Linked DNA regions of Homo sapiens: regions 2, 3, 4, 5 and 6 are each linked to region 1. Evidence: promoter capture Hi-C in human tissues and cell types (Jung and others, 2019). All regions are on one chromosome and are shown on one strand. The core of a region is centred on a gene start or on the middle of the fragment in contact, and the rest is flanking DNA. Distances in the headings are between cores, read along the strand shown. Region 1 holds the start of PRR5-ARHGAP8 (PRR5-ARHGAP8 readthrough). Region 2 overlaps NUP50 (nucleoporin 50). Region 3 overlaps NUP50-DT (NUP50 divergent transcript). Region 4 has its middle 51 kb from the start of NUP50-DT. Region 5 has its middle 71 kb from the start of NUP50-DT. Region 6 overlaps PHF21B (PHD finger protein 21B).

Evidence for each region. The method cuts DNA at HindIII sites, captures the fragments that hold promoters and counts their contacts. A contact is called where the count stands out against the background at its distance.
Region 2: a contact is called between a fragment that was not itself captured here and the fragment with the promoter of PRR5-ARHGAP8 in region 1, in 1 of the 25 tissues and cell types used here (ovary).
Region 3: a contact is called between a fragment that was not itself captured here and the fragment with the promoter of PRR5-ARHGAP8 in region 1, in 4 of the 25 tissues and cell types used here (IMR-90 fibroblasts, dorsolateral prefrontal cortex, lymphoblastoid cells and 1 more).
Region 4: a fragment that was not itself captured here is called in contact with the fragment with the promoter of PRR5-ARHGAP8 in region 1 in 1 of the 25 tissues and cell types used here (dorsolateral prefrontal cortex).
Region 5: a fragment that was not itself captured here is called in contact with the fragment with the promoter of PRR5-ARHGAP8 in region 1 in 3 of the 25 tissues and cell types used here (dorsolateral prefrontal cortex, mesenchymal stem cells and mesendoderm cells).
Region 6: a contact is called between a fragment that was not itself captured here and the fragment with the promoter of PRR5-ARHGAP8 in region 1, in 2 of the 25 tissues and cell types used here (adrenal gland and lymphoblastoid cells).

Annotation. Positions count from the first base shown.
Region 1 is chr22:44,700,924-44,703,499 of GRCh38, forward strand. It overlaps PRR5-ARHGAP8 (PRR5-ARHGAP8 readthrough), which reads left to right and starts at 1,281. Exons shown (of 15, transcript NM_181334.6): 1 at 1,281-1,685. The coding sequence starts at 1,552. It overlaps PRR5 (proline rich 5), which reads left to right and starts at 1,281. Exons shown (of 8, transcript NM_181333.4): 1 at 1,281-1,685. The coding sequence starts at 1,552. RefSeq lists a silencer at 1,155-1,564. The HindIII fragment of the contact is 17,168 bases long and covers 1-2,576 here.
Region 2 is chr22:45,169,379-45,171,954 of GRCh38, forward strand. NUP50 (nucleoporin 50) reads left to right here. Exons shown (of 8, transcript NM_007172.4): 3 at 2,222-2,305. Among named protein-coding and RNA genes, the nearest start is that of NUP50, 6.7 kb to the left of the region's middle. The HindIII fragment of the contact is 3,699 bases long and covers 1-2,576 here.
Region 3 is chr22:45,132,412-45,134,987 of GRCh38, forward strand. NUP50-DT (NUP50 divergent transcript) reads right to left here. Exons shown (of 3, transcript NR_038956.1): 3 at 1,347-2,386. Among named protein-coding and RNA genes, the nearest start is that of NUP50-DT, 30 kb to the right of the region's middle. The HindIII fragment of the contact is 4,653 bases long and covers 1-2,576 here.
Region 4 is chr22:45,111,499-45,114,074 of GRCh38, forward strand. No RefSeq gene overlaps it. Among named protein-coding and RNA genes, the nearest start is that of NUP50-DT, 51 kb to the right of the region's middle. The HindIII fragment of the contact is 8,481 bases long and covers 1-2,576 here.
Region 5 is chr22:45,091,323-45,093,898 of GRCh38, forward strand. No RefSeq gene overlaps it. Among named protein-coding and RNA genes, the nearest start is that of NUP50-DT, 71 kb to the right of the region's middle. RefSeq lists an enhancer at 2,436-2,576. The HindIII fragment of the contact is 3,268 bases long and covers 1-2,576 here.
Region 6 is chr22:44,982,206-44,984,781 of GRCh38, forward strand. The region is part of intron 2 of PHF21B (PHD finger protein 21B); the gene reads right to left. Among named protein-coding and RNA genes, the nearest start is that of PHF21B, 27 kb to the right of the region's middle. RefSeq lists an enhancer at 1-518. The HindIII fragment of the contact is 5,297 bases long and covers 1-2,576 here.

The sequences.
Region 1 (2,576 bases), core at 31-2,530:
CCAGGCTGGAGTGCAGTGGCGAGATCTCAGCTCTCTGCAACCTCTGCCTCCCAGGTTCAAGCGATTCTCCTGTCTCAGCCTCCTGAGTAGCTGGGATTACGGGCATGCACCACCACGCCCAGCTAATTTTGTATTTTTAATAGAGATGGGGTTTCTCCATGTTGGCCGGGCTGGTCTTGAACTCCTGACCTCAGGTGATCCTCCCACCTCGGCCTCCCAAAGTGCTGGGATTACAGGCATGAGCCATCACCTCTCTCTTACATTTTATATGGGGCCCTCCCAGCTCCTGGAGCTGTGGCTGTCACCCCCCATCTGATGGAGGGGTCAGGTGAGCCTTGTGGGAATCCCAGAAGCTGGGGACTGGGAAGGGCCCTGTTCAAGGGGCTGGACGCTCCCTGTGGTGAAGCCCAACTCTACCATTTGTTGATTGCACAATGTTGGCACAATGTTGGGCAAGTTATTTCACTCTGTGAGCCTCAATGTCCTCAACTGGAAAATGGGGAGAAGAATAATCTCTACCTCACGGAAGTAGTTCATGTTAGTTCATGTGAAATCAGACATCTAAAAGTGCTCTGCGAAGCAGGCAGGAAGCACCGGCTGTGCCCTGCCTTCACTGGGATCACTCTGCCCCCACCACAGGGACTTGGGAAACTGCTTGGTTTTACCATCCAAGAGACCTGGGGGTGGGAGATAAGGAGCAAACCCTCTACTTCTTCAAGCCCTCACTCCAGCAAATCCTCCAGGCAGCCAGGCAATGCTGAAGTCCCTGTCCAAGGGGGTCTAGGCTGAGCCCGGGTGGAGTGGGTTCTTGGGCCAAGGTGCCTGGAGGGGACTGAAGGCCTCTACCCAAAGTCCTCATGAGAACTGGGTGGGGGAGCCTGTGTTCAGGTGAGGGGTACGGAGGCACCTCTGTGGCACAGCCTTTGCGAGGAGGGCTGTGGAGGGAGACCTCCGGGGCCGGGGTCGAAGGACATCGTGTGGGCGCGACCGCAGTGCTGGGCGGGGGGCGGGCGCTTGGGCTTGGGCCCTGCGTCCTGTGCGTGTTGGTTTCCTGTGGGCACGTGGGGCCCTCGGAAGAGGGGAGGAGGGTGAGCACGTCCTCAGAGGGCAGACCCAGCGAGGCGTCGTGGCAGCTGCGGCCGCGGAGACGCCGGCTCCGCCTCTTGCACACGCCCCCTCGCCTGAGGCCCCGCCCCGCCCGCGATGCCCCCGCCCCCTTCCCCGCCCCGCCCCCCGGGGCGCCGAGACCCGCCCCTGGGCCCGCCCCCGGGTCCGCCCCCGGCCTCCGTTTGCGCCGGGTCTGTGCTGGCCGCGCGCCTGGCGCTCCACGCTGAGCCTCTCCGTGCAATGATTAACCCGGCGGGGCGGCCGGCGCGGGACCCGAGACGGAGGCGCGGGGCCGGGGCGGGACCCCGCAGGACCGCTCGGCTTCCTGCTCTCGCCGGAGTTTCCGCGTAGAGGGCGCATCGCCGGCCCGGGGCCCTTGGTGCGGCGTGGCGCAGGGCGCGGCGTGGGGCGCGCGTGGGCGCGGCGCAGGCGGCCCGGGTCACCATGAGGACTCTCCGCAGGTTGAAGTTCATGAGTTCGCCCAGCCTCAGTGACCTGGGCAAGAGAGAGCCGGCCGCCGCCGCGGACGAGCGGGGCACGCAGCAGCGCCGGGCCTGCGCCAACGCCACCTGGAACAGGTAAGGCCGCGCCCTCCCGGCCACCCGGAGGCCCTGGAGCCGGGGGAGGGGACCCCTGAGCCGTCCGCGGGCTAGGGGCCGCCCCGAGCCAGGAACGCTGCCGAAGGCGGCGCGGCGCTTCACAGTTTGCAAAGAACTTGCCCCGCCGGAGTGGTGCGGGCCTGGAGGAAAGTTCAGTGCAGCGTGGTTCCAGAACCCAGGGAAGGGAGCGAGGCCCGCCAGCGCCCGGGGCTGGCCCAGAAGCGCCCGGCGGGTGGGCGGCGGGGTGGGCCGGGAAGCCGCGTGCCCGCCTCCTACCCGGGGTCTTTCCACGTCTCCACTGCGGTGCTCGTGACAACCTGGGAGGCTAACGGAGCAGGAAGTATTTTTCCCATTTTGCGGCTGAGCACGGGAGCCTCGGGGCTCAGTGGGTGGGTCGCGCAGGCTTCCTGTGTCTCTTTAAGCTCCCTTCGGCTTTCCCTTGAGAGGCCCCCTGTCCTCCAGCTGTCAGCAGGGGGTGCGGCAGCTGCGAGGCATTCTTTAGAGGACTCTCCTCCAGGGGTCATTCCCAGACAAGCAGGGGCCTGGGAAGCCCCTTCTCCCAGCTTTGTTTGAGGAGCAAGTCCGGGATCTGGAAAAGAGACGGTTTATTTAGTGGAACTCCCCAGCGTCTCTGCTCCCTAGGAAAATGAGAGGCAGGAGAAAGTGAGGCAGGCTGTTCGCGGGAGGCAGTGGACACTGTTCGGGGGAGGCTGTGGACACTGTTCGGGGGAGGCTGTGGACGTTGCCCCTCTCGCGCCCACACCTGGCAGTAAAATCTTGCCAGATGCTCCACCGGCTGTGGTCTTGGCCACCGGGAACCCGGCTGTCACTTGGACACACGTTATTTTCAGTTCATTGAATGCATTGTGA
Region 2 (2,576 bases), core at 34-2,533, 470 kb after region 1:
GAATAAAACACAGCTGTACTTATAGGATGTGGGCGAAGGATTACCCAGGTGCCGAGGCAAGAGACTGAAGGCACAAACTGTTTCAGTATAATACATAAAATAGTTAGAATAAGAATAGTCATAATACAAATTAGATACAGAGATGATCACGGGCATTATCAATCATTAGTATAAACATTACTAGTCATTAGCTTTTAATATTACTCTTTGTTGTACTACTAATATAACCAAGGAATAACCGGCAGATACAGGGTCAGGTGCTGAAGGGACATTGTGAGAAGTGACCTAGAAGGCAAGAGGTGAGCCAGCCCTCTGTCACGCCCGCATAAGGGCCGCTTGAGGGCTCCTTGGTCAAGTGGTAACGCCAGTGCCTGGGAAGGCACCTGTTACTTAGTAGACCGTGAAAGGGAGTCTCCTTTACTTGGAGGAGTCAGGGAACACTCTGCTCCACCACCTTCTTGTGGGAGATTGGATATTGTCCAGGCTTGCCAGTAGTCATCCAGAGGCTTGAACCCCTCCCTGTGGTGCTGTGCTTCAGTGGTCACACTCCTTGTCCACATTCATGCTCCTCCCGTAGTCCTGGTTCCTCTTTGAAGTTCTTAGTAGATAGCAGTAGAAGAAATAGTGAAAGTTTTAAAGTCTTTGATCTTTCTGATAAGTGCATAGAAGAAAATGCTGACGTACGCCGCCTTCCTTCTCTGCTTCAGCTACCTAAAAGGGAAGGGCCCCTGTCCCATGATCACGTGACTTGCTTGACCTTGTCAATCCCCTGGACGACTCATCCTCCTCACCCTGCTCCCTTGTCTTGTATGCAATAAATATCAGCACGCCCAGCCATTCAGGGCCACTGCCGGTCTCCGTGTCTTGGTGGTAGTAGTCCCCCAGGCCCAGCTGTTTTCTCTTTATCTCTTTGTCTTGTGTCTTTATTTCTTACAATCTCTGTTTCCCCCTTCGAGGAGAACACCCGCAAAGCCCAGTAGGGCTGGACTCTACAGTCGTACCTTATCAGCAGTGTGTTACCCCCAGGCCAGATGACTAAGGAAATCTGTAACCACGACTTTCAGGTTAACAGCATAGTGCTAAGTGAAAAAAGAAAAATGTTAAAACTGCAACTGTTTCCAAGCTTATTCTTAGACGGCCATCTTCCTTCTTTTGGAATCTTTCTGGTACTAGTACTTTTTTTCTCTACAAGTGTATCTCCTCACATATGTTTAGGGAAACCAGAATCCCAAGGATGTGAGTGTTTTGACAGGGTCAAAACTGATTTGGTGCTTTTTAACTAAAATCTTTGGTTATGGGGGTTTTTGGTTTTTTGTTGTTGTTGGTTTAAGATCTTAAGCACAGTTACATTCTGGGCTATAGTAACATCTAGATTACCATGTAACTATTTGCTTAGACATTAAAATATTCAGGAATGAAAGAACTCCCATTCGAACATATGCCAATGAAATGTGTGGAAAGATTACATTTAGTTAAGTACATTTAACTTGGGGCAAGTGCAGCCAGATGGTCCCCTCTATGAGTGTAGGAGCCCGTTAAGTTTAATATGATCTGAAACAACTATAGGTGAGAATTTTTGCATGAGAAATATTTTATTCCGACCCTACAGGGTAAAAGAAGGGCTATAAACTAAAGCCGAAGATATTCAGCAGCTTTCTGACGTGGACATCAGAAGTGTGGACATGAGTGTGCTTTGAGCGCACTGTGGAAGAGCAGTGGTTGTCCAGCAAGGTCCTAGGTGCCTCCGTGGCCTTTCGTACAGTGGGCAAGTTGGGCAGGACTCATCTTAAAAATCATGTGTATGTTATAAATAACAAAATTTATTTATTTATTTTTTTGAGACAGTCTTGCTCTGTTGCCCAGGCTGGAGTGCAGTGGTGCTATCTCGGCTCACTGCAACCTCCACCTCCCGGAGGGTTCAAGTGATTCTCCTGCCTCAGCCTCCCAGGTGGCTGGGATTACAGGTGCCCACCACCATGCCCAGCTAATTTTTCATTTTTAGTAGCGACAGAGTTTCACCATGTTGGCCAGACTGGTCTCAAACTCCTGACCTTTGGCCTCCCAAAGCGCTAGTATTATAGGCGCAAGCCATTGTGCCTGGCCAAAATTTATTTTTGAGAGGCCGGACACAGTGGCTCAGTTCTAGCTTGTTGTTGTTGTTGAGGATTTTGTCATCTGTTTGGCTTTATCTTACTGCTGCTTAATTTGTATTGTATTGCAGGTGGGAACATTCTCCATGGCCAGTGAGGAAGTCTTGAAGAATAGAGCCATAAAGAAAGCAAAGCGCAGAAATGTTGGATTTGAAGTGAGTGCCCCCTTACAGCTCTTGCTATTAAATACTCATTTGATTTCTGGGTTGCACAGCAATCCCTCCGCTGGGAGCAATGATATCAACAAATGCTTTCTTAAAATACTTATTCTTTGATGTAGGTCATGGGAGATAGAAAAAAATAAGAAACGTCAGGTCTGGACCTTAAAGAGAGCTTATCCAGTTGAGGAAATAAGATAAATATAGACAAATTCAAGTTGAGTGACAATCTGGAGAAGAAAAATGAGCAAAGCAATACAGAGGTGGG
Region 3 (2,576 bases), core at 1-2,500, 430 kb after region 1:
GGGTTTCACCATGTTGGCCAGGCTGGTCTTGAACTCCTGGCCTCAAGTGATCCAACCACCTCGGCCTCCCAAAGTGCTGGGATTACAGATGTGAGCTACTGCTCCTGGCCTGAACCTGGCTTTGAATACAAATGAGCATATGTGTATGTGTCTGAGAGAGTGGCAGACTCGGGGGAAGCAGGCTGAGTGAAAAGGGACAAAGGAGGCCAGAGGGAAGAAGGAGAAGCAGAGAGGGGAGCACCAAGTATCTACCCACCACCTGGAATCTTCCGGATCCTGCGTGGCCCTGGAAATGACCTGCCTATGGCTTCAGACACGGCGACTTTAGGATGCCATCATAACACCCTCATTTTGGCAGACCTCCTGGGCCTTAAAGCTTCACCATCTCACTCAAAATTCACGGTGGCTTTTCCAAGCTAGCTTTCATTTGCCTTGAGATTGTCAGAATTACCTAGTGCCTCCCATTTTTCTTGCCTCCTCGCTCATCAATGCCAGTATTGCTTTCATACCCTAAGGACTGCTGTCTTTTAGCATCTTCTCTTTCATAATGAGTTAACTACAAATACACACCCCTCGGGATCAGAAAAGTAATGTGGCCTACAAGGAGTGTAAAAGCATTTGTAAACTTTATTTGTAAACCATATACATTTTAAAAAGAAAGTCAAATATTTTCTTTTTTTTTTTTTTTTGAGACAAAGTCTTGCTCTGTCGCCCAGGCGGTAGTACAGTGGCACTATCTTGGCTCACTGCAACCTCTGCCCCCCCAGGTTCAAGTGATTCTCCCTGCCTCAGCCTCCCAAGTAGCTGGGATTACAGGTGCCCACCACCATGCCCGGCTAATTTTTGTATTTTTAGTAGAGATAGGGTTTCGCCATGTTGGCCAGGCTGGTCTCGAACTCTTAGACTCAAGTGATCCACCCAACTCAGGCCCCCAAAGTGCTGCGATTACAGGTGTGTGCCACCATGCCCGGCCAAATATTTTCTTAAAAAGTAGGATCTAAAGTAATTCAAGGGCTGGGCATGGTGGCTCATGCCTGTAATCCCAGCAATTTGGGAGGCTGAGGTGGGCAGATCACGTGAGATCAGGAGTTCGAGACCAGCCTGGCCAATGTGGCAAAACCCCGTCTCTACTAAAAATACAGAAATTAGCTGGGCATGGTGGTGGGCGCCCATAATCCCAGCTACTCAGGAGGCTGAGGCAGGAGAATCGTTTGAACCCAGCAGGAGGAGGTTGCAGTGAGCTGAGATCGCACCACTGCACTCCAGCCTGGGTGACACAGCAACACTCTGTCTCCAAAAAATAAATAAATAAATAAATAAAATAAAGTAATTCAGGCAGAATTTTAAAATAAAGCCTTCTCCAATTTTTTCTGAGCAAGGAAAAAGAAGGAAATAAATCAGTATTTGTTGGGGGTGTACAAAATGCCCAGAACTGCGCTAGCCCCACCTTCTGTCTCAGTGGTGTGTGGTCTTCCCAGCAATGCTTAGAAAGAGAGAACGGTGTCCTCATTTCACAGATGGGGAAATAATAAGGGCTCAGGAAGGTGACATACTTCTAATAAAACTGAAATCTGAGCTGAGCTTGGTCTGACTTTTACAAGTGCATTGGACTTTTTCCACTCTAGGAAAACTTCCTCAGCTCTAACTTCCAGGTAGACTCGGGTTAATAAATGTCATGTCACAGAAAGTTCTAGCAAAGCCCATGGCTTCACAAAGCAGATGGTTTGATATGAACTTAATGTTTTTGTCTAGAATTATCCTTCATAAATGTAGGAAAGGCAAAGACAGCCCTTCACCTTCTGGTAAAACACAGGCCTCAATTTCTCCTGCTCCCTCCATCTTAACCTCTTCATTGAGGAAAAAATAATGCTAAGTGACTCTTGTCCAACATGAGTTTAGTGGTCAAAGGCAGAGTAGAAATTACTTAGATGAGGCTCATAGTAACACTATACCCATGATAACAGCCATATTATTCAGGATAAAGTCCAGGCAGCTAAAACAGAGAGACTCTAAAAGACAGTGACTCACAGAAAGTCCTTATCATATAACAGTCCCAAAGTCGGGACAGTGAGAGGGCTCATGACGTCACTCAAGGACCCAGGCCCTTTCCACCTTGTTGCTCTGCCAGACTGCAGAGTACTGTTTTCGCCCCATGGTCAAAGCTGGGTGGGAGCACATGCACATTCCAGCTTGTGAGAAGAGGAAAGAGCACCGCTGCAGGACCAGGGCTCATCTTCCATGCCCAGGGCTCATTTTCCATGCTGGGGACGACCTAGAAGTTGCACCATCATCACTGCACACGTTCTGTGCTTGGCCACAAGGCCGCACTAGCAACAAAGCAGACAAGAAGTGTAGTCTCTCCCTGGGCCCAATGGCAATTCTGTTCCTGTGGAAGAAGGGGAGACCAGATTTTAGTGTCCAACTATTAATTGCAACCTGCCACAATAACAACCATAGTTTACATCTGTACTTTGCTTTACAGTTAATCAAATACTTTCATACCCTCCAAGCCACCTAATCTAACAACAAACCTTTGAGTAGGCAACATTTCTCTCATGTTATACATGAGAAAACAG
Region 4 (2,576 bases), core at 44-2,543, 410 kb after region 1:
GCATATGAAATCTGTTCGGAGGGAGCAGCCCTCCTCTGGCCAGGATGAAAACTCTGGCAGGCCCTCGACTTTCCTATGTACTCTCAGGTAATAAGCAGTTGCTCTAATTACCAAACACAATCTCTTTAAAAAATTATTATTTTTAGAGACATTGTCTCGCTTTTTCACTCTGTTGCTCAGAATGAAGTGCAATGGCACAATCATAGCTCACTGCACCCTTGAACTCCTGGGCTCAAGCAATCCTCCCACTTCAGCCTCTCTAGAAGCTGGGATTACAGGTGCATGCCACCATGCTCAGCTAGTTTTTAAATTTTTTGTAGAGACAGGGTCTTGCCATGTTGCCCAGAGTGGTCTCAAATTCCTGGCTTCAAGTGATCCACCCATCTCTGTCTCCCAAAGTGTTGGGATTACAGATATAATCCACCATGCCTGGCCCAAATACAGTCTTGATTCAGAAACTCAAGCCCAAGATATCAATCAAGTCTCCAGATTTGATCTAATGTGAGACCTTCTCACATTAGAAGAGTCTGCTTCTACAGGGGAAGTGGGCAGTTCTCCTCCTCTCCATTTCTCTTATCTTGTACTACTCTCTCTCCTGCATCCAAGCCCATCACCCAGCTTCCCAGCCAGTTTTTGGCCCCTGAAGTAGGAAGGTAGGCAGTAAAAAGTGGTAAGGAGATAGAAAAGGACCTAAATTGGAAGCATCAAAAACTAGTTTCACACTGTCCAGGCCATAAATTACCAAAAAAAAAAAATGGCTATAATTCTTCACTCCTTCCTGAATCTGTGCCCTTTTCATGTGACCTTGCAATTGTTCTCACTAAAGAGGCAGAGTTGATTTTCCTACCCGTTAAATCTGGGCTGGCATTGTGACTTGCTTCAGCTGATAGAATGCTGTGGAAATGGTGGCCTTCCAGTTCCAAGCCCAGGCCTCAAGAGATCTTGCATACTTGTGCTGACTGTCATGATCTCCACGTGAATACCAGGCTAGCCTGCTGGAGGATGAGACACCACATGGAGCCAGGCCAAGTCACTCCAGCCAAGGCCAGCCTAGACCAGCCCTGTCCCAGACAACTTGCCAGCTGACAAAAAAACACATGAAAAAGCCCAGCCCAGTCCAGTCTAGACCAAAAAAGTCCAGCGGACAAGTCAATTACCACAGACTTTGTCATGGTTTGGAGCCAATAAGTTTTGGGGATGTTTGTTACACACCCCTATGATGGCAATAAGTAACAGCTACACTCCAGTTCTGGCAAATGTTCAAAGGTGATTCTCTTCTGGGGCACTCTCATGGACTCTTTGAAGAGCCCTGCTGTGGAAGGCCTCTCCCTGCAACTCTGAAGGCGTAGGGAATTCATATTTTCCTTCAGATCCTCCGATCTCCTCCCTCGGCTCTGTTTCTCCGGTGGTTCACTCCACCCTGTCTCTCCCTGTTGAGGTCACCTCATTTGAAATTGTAACTTTCAAATGAAACCCTTCAGGCCTGGAAAAACATAAAAGAGTGCAGAGAAATAAGCCAGGTACAAAAGAACAAATACTGTATGATTCCACAGATAAAGTATCAATAACAGGCAAATTCATAGAGACAAAAAGTCTAATAGAGGTGTCAGGGCTGAGGAGAGGGGGTTGGGGAGTTGTTTAATGGGTACAGAGTTTCTCTCTGAGATAATGAAAAAGTTCTGGGAGTGGATAGTATTGAGAGTGACACAACATGGAGAATTTATTTGATGCCACTGAATTGTATGCTTACACTTAATAGACTTAAATATGGTGTCTGGACAGGGCTGCCAATTCATTCCATGAAGGCAATGTCACTCTGCTACCAAAATCACACAAAGACATCACAAGAAAAGAAAACTAGGACGGGCACAGTGGCTAATGCCTGTAATCCCAGCACTTTGGGAGGCCAAGGTCAGAGGATCACCTGAGGTCAGGAGTTCGAGACCAGCCTGACCAACATGGTGAAACTCCATCTCTACTAAAAATACAAAAATTAGCCAGGCGTGGTGGCACATTCCTGTAGTCCCAGCTACTCAGGAGGCTGAGGCAGGAGAATCGCTTTAACCCAGGAGGCAGAGATTGCAGTGAGCCAAGATCGCACCACTACATTCCAGCCTGGATGACTCCGTCTCAAAAAAAGAAGAAAGAAAGAAAGAAGGAAGGAAAGAAAGAAAGAAAGAAAGAAAGAAAGAAAGAAAGAAAGAAAGAAAGAAAGAGAAAACTAAAGACCAATATCTCTTTTGAATGTACCATAAAACTCCTCAATCAAATATTAGCGAATTAAATCCAGAAACATATAAAGAGGATTATATGCCATGACCAAATGGGGATTTATCCCAGAAATCAAATGAGATTCTTATCTCAAGAATGCAAGTTTGATTTAACATCCAAAAATTAATATGATGTACCATATAGATAGAATAAAGAACAAAAATCACATGGTCATCTCAGGAGATACAAAAAAGGCATTTGACAAAATCCAGAACCCTTTCATAAAAACATGCAGCAAGTGAGGAATAGAAGGAAACTTCCTCAACCTGATCATATGTGAAAAACTCACAGTTACATTTCTTTTT
Region 5 (2,576 bases), core at 43-2,542, 390 kb after region 1:
TGCACGCGGCACCGTCCCACACAGAGGGTGGACCTGCAGAGCTCAGGCAGGGAGGTGGGCGTCTACGCGGATTCACTCGACACGCTGATGGGACACGCTCACGGCGTGCGGAGGCCAGGAGGGAAAGGGTCAGGGCCAGGCACAAAGTCTGAGTCGGGGAGGGGCAAGTTCGTGGCAAGAAAGCCCCACCCAGAGACAGGTCGAGAGAGCAGGTGCCCTGTAAAGTGGGGCGCTCCGGGTTCTTGTCCTGCCTCTGCCGCTCGCTCGCTGACGACCTGGGAGAAGTCGCTAAGCTCTGGAACTCCTCTGCTTCTCAGCAGCAAGACAACTGGCCTCGGGGGCCCTGCGGATCCCTCCAGCTCCGGGGCTGCTTCCTTACTTTCTTGTTTCTCCTTCAGTCAACAGATAAATGCCTGCCACGGACCAGGCACTGGGATCGGTGTCACTCAGATCACAGGACACTCAGATGTTGATAACGCGTAGGTAACACAGTGTAGAAGGAAAGGTCTGTAGCAGACAACGCAACACAGCGAGAGCCACAGCAAGCGGGGCACGAGCCGGGTGAAGGCAGATGGAAAACATCCCTGGGAGAGGGGAACCGGCGGCTTCCTCCAGGTGGTCATCGTGGATCCTCAAAGCTTAGCACAGTGTCTGGGCACAGAGCAGGGCCTCATAAATGTGTTCAATTTACATAGGCCCAGAAGAGGCGGGCGCGGTGGCTTATGCCTGTAATCCCAGCACTTAGGGAGGCCGAGGCGGGCGGATCACCTGTGGTTGGGAGGTCGAGACCAGCCTGGCCAACATGGTGAAACCCCATCTCTACTAAAAATACAAAAAAAAATTAGCTGGGCGCGGTGGCGGGCACCTGTAAGAAAGGCGCTCGGGAAGCTGAGGCAAGAGAATCACTTGAATCCGGGAGGCAAATGTTGCAGTGAGCCGAGATTGCACCGCTGCACTCCAGCCTGGGCAACAAGAGTGAAACTCCATCTCAATAAATAAATAAATATGGCTTTAAGGTATACTTGATATACAAAACACGGCATATATTTAATATATACAATTTGATGAGTTTGGTGTCAGCACAGTTTTTACAAAGCAAGAACATACTCACAGCGGATGGGTGTGCGGCTGGGCCTGATACATGGGAAGGTGGAGTGGGGAGAAGGGTCTTTCTAGAAGCAGAGGGGCAGCAGAATCTCTGGAGGGCTCCTCGCTCTATGAGGAGAAGGGTCTTTCTAGAAGCAGAGGGGCAGCAGAATCTCTGGAGGGCTCCTCGCTCTATGAGGAGAAGGGGTTGTTCTCTTATAGGCTGGAAAGCAGTTCTCAAGCCTGGGGAGACGGGTGGGTTTTAGGACAGAGGGCCTGGCTTCCCCCCATGTGAGGTATTGATGTGGACTGAATTGTGTCCCCTTAAAATCCATGTTCAAGCCCTAACCCTCAGGGTGACTGTATTTGGAGATAGGGCCTCTAAGGAAGACATTAAGGTTAAATTAGGTTATAAGGGTGGGGCCCTGACACAGCAGGGTTAGTGTCCTTGTGCTGTAGGGCAAAACGGGGTTGCTGCCCGATGTGCTAGAAGCCAATCTTATGATGCTGAGTTTTTGAGAAAATAAAACCTTTGTATTGAAACTCAGCTCCCAAGGAGACAGGAGACAAGCTCAAGTCTGTCTCCCGGTGCTGGAATACTTCAAGGCAGTGTTTTTTATTTATTTACTTTTTTTTGTTTTTTTTTTTTTGAGACAGAGTTTCACTCTTGTTGCTCAGGCTGGAGTACAGTGGCACGATCTCGGCTCACTGCAACCTCCGCCTCCCAGGTTCAAGCGATTCTCCTCCCTCAGCCTCGAGACTAGCTGGGATTACAGGCACCCGCCACCATACCTGGCTAATTTTTGTATTTTTAGTAGAGACAGGGTTTCACCATGTTGGCCAGGCTAGTCTCGGACTCCTCAAGTGATCTGCCCACTACGGCCTCCCAAAATGCTGGTATTACAGGCCTGGACCACTGTGCCTGGCCTCAAGGCAGTATTTTTATTAGGAAAGGTCCAAGGGGTGGATTCTGGGATCTGTAGGTGATTGGCGGAAGAAAGTGGAGGTCTGGAAAGTCCTTAGGCATGTGCAGTCACCTCTTCATGCTACCTCGTGTGTCACATGTGCAAATTCAGGGGGCGATTCAGGCTGCGACGTTGGCAGGCGGGTTCTGCACGGACTCCAGCCGGTCCCCGGGGCTGCGACTGACTTCAGCCCATTCTTTCATCTCATGGGCAGAGGAAGCTTCAGTATTCCAGCCAGCTGTTTCCTTTCTCATCTGCCACCCTGCAAACTCAAGAATTTCTGCTGGCCGTCTGTATCTTTGACTCTTGGGGGCACGGTTTTACTTACAAGAGAAAGACACCATGGAGCCCGCACCCTCTCTCTCTGCCGTGTGAGGACGCAGTGAGAAGGCGGTGTCTGCAGACCAGCAAGGGAGGCCTCCCAGAGCCCTGCCATGCCACACCCTGAGCTTGTGAGAAATGAGTGTGTGTGGTTTCAGCCACGCAGTCCATGCTGCTTTGTTAGGGCAGCCGGAGGTGACCAAC
Region 6 (2,576 bases), core at 26-2,525, 280 kb after region 1:
GCCGCCTCTGCTGCCTATCAGCTTCTGTGTATCTCACTGCAGGAGTGAATGAGTGAGTGAATGACCCAGTATGAGTACTTTGCAAAGGCTGATCTGGGGCAGGGAGAGAGAAGAGGAAAGACGACAAGATCATGACTGAGCATCCACTTGGGGCAGGCACACCCTTGCCATCACCTACGTGCAACCCTGGGGAGCTGGCACTACCAAACCCTTCCACAGATGAGAAACCTGGGGCTCGGAAAGTCATCCGATTACCCTAAGAGGGCACAGGCCAGCCAGCCAAGTCTGCAGGACTCTAAGCCCGTGTCCTCCCCACTCCTCCACAGGCCCAAGTGCTCGGCGGGTCCTAAGCAAACTCCCCCATGGGCTCACATCTCGCAGCCACTGCTTCTGCCCAAGCAAGAGACGCACATAACCAAGAAGCCAGAAGCTCAACTCCCGTCAAATGAGGCTGTCGATTTTAATTAATTTCAGACTTTGTGTGTTTCTGGCAATTATTTGTAACAAGGTTTACAGAGGGCATTTAAAATTAATGGTGATTTTTATCTGGAAATCATTGATTATTTTTAAGTAGCTCATTAGGGGTGAGTGTGTATTACGGGAGCAGCAGGCTCTGTCAGGAAGGAGGCACCTGGGGCTACCAGGAGGAGCCAGAAGAAGGAAGACGTCTGAACTGTGACAAGTTCAAAGCCAGCAGAGATTATGAAATGATGCTCCCCAAGACAGAATCTGATTTGGACCAAGATGTATGCAAGGGGCCGGGCGCGGTGGCTCATGCCTGTAATCCCAGCACTTTGGGAGACCGAGGTGGGAGAATCACTTCAGGTTAGGAGTTTGAGACCAGCCGGACCAACCCTGTCTCCACTAAAAATTCAAAAATTAGCCGGGCATGGTGGCAGGCGCCTGTAATCCCAGCTACTCAGGAAGCTGAAGCAGGAGAATTGCTTGAACCCAGGAGGCGGAGGTTACAGTGAGCCGAGATCATGCCACTGCACTCCAGCCTGGGCGACAGAGCGAGACTCTGTCTCAAAAAAAAAAAAAAAAAAAGGCAAAACCGGGGGAAATCTAGTGAATGACCTAAAACGGGAAAGCGAGTTGGGCTCCTCTTGCTTCTCACCCATTGACCTGCAGACATGTTGGCATGTTTGCTGCCGCTGGTGGCTCTTAGGGAGGTCCAGCTGTCCCTAGCCACTTGGCCCAGGGGAACTCACTACCTCAGGCAGAGGCTTCAGCATGAACCCCCACTAGTGGCAAAGGCCCTGAGGAAACCGGAACAAAGACTGCAGGGAGGGGTCCCTGTGGGCATCAGCAGACAAGCCTGGAAGAGCTGGGCCCTGGGCCGTCGCAAACACCACACCAAAGGGCAGGCGAGGGAGGCTTAGCACATCATCTTCTGTACTTTTTGTATTTTTTAAAAGTATTTTAAAAGACATAAGTTTGAAAATCTACCCTAAGAAAAACCAATGCAGATGAAGAGAAATGTCTAAACACCAATCACATAAAATGTTAAATGGAAACAATCTAACATCACAGACTGTTTACAAACTGCTACAGTTTTTACTTCCTGCTTTTTACTCAGAGGATTAAACTCCAGGGTAGTCCTCTGAATTATAATAAAACCACTAATATTTGCATAAGCCTTTATAGCTGATACAGATATTATTTCCATTTTGCAGGTGGGAAAAGGGAAGTTTGGGGAGATTCCATGCCCAAGTATTCAAGGCATGTACTCTGAGGAACTGGAGCTGGGCCCCTTTCCGACATGCCGATGTCCTCAATCTTTCCCAGAGGTTAGCAAGGCATGACAGCCACCGCCATCATCATTGGCATCATCACCACCATCATCACTATCATCATCATCACCATCACCACCACCATCACCATCATCATCACCATCATCACCACCATAACCACCATCACCATCATCATGATCACCATCATCATCACCACCATCACCACCATCATCACCATCACAACCACCATCATCACCACCACTACCACCATCATCACCACCACCATCACCATCACCACCCTCATTACCACCACCATCATCATCACCATCACCACCACCACCACCACCATCATCATCATCATCACCACCACAAAAGGGCCAGTAAGAGCTGAAGAAGCATGACCTTCACATCTTTCCATCTGGTCAGGTGGCCAGGGAAAAGGTTAACCTTACCCAGAGCCTTGGTTCTCAAACTTCAGGGGATCCCGAATCTTGTGGGAAGCATGTTACACACAGACTCCTGGACCCAGTGGTGGATTCCCCAGGTATGGGGAGGCACCAGGCTTCCGCAGGTGAACAGAGCTCGGGGATTCAGGTGCAGTCAAGGGGCTGGCTCTGAGGGCCCCTGTGCAAAGCCTGGCAATGCCGTAGCTGGAGGCACATCTGAGAGTTAAACACCTGCTCAGCATGAGAATGAAAGTGCGTGACATACATGCTTATTTGTATTTCAATCCTGCTCTGTAAGTTATTAATTTAATTTGTAAGGTGATAGGACTGCTTATCCTGTTATTTCATGGAAAGCTTTATTTTTCAAGAAAAGTCACATTAGGACTGTTTTCTATTC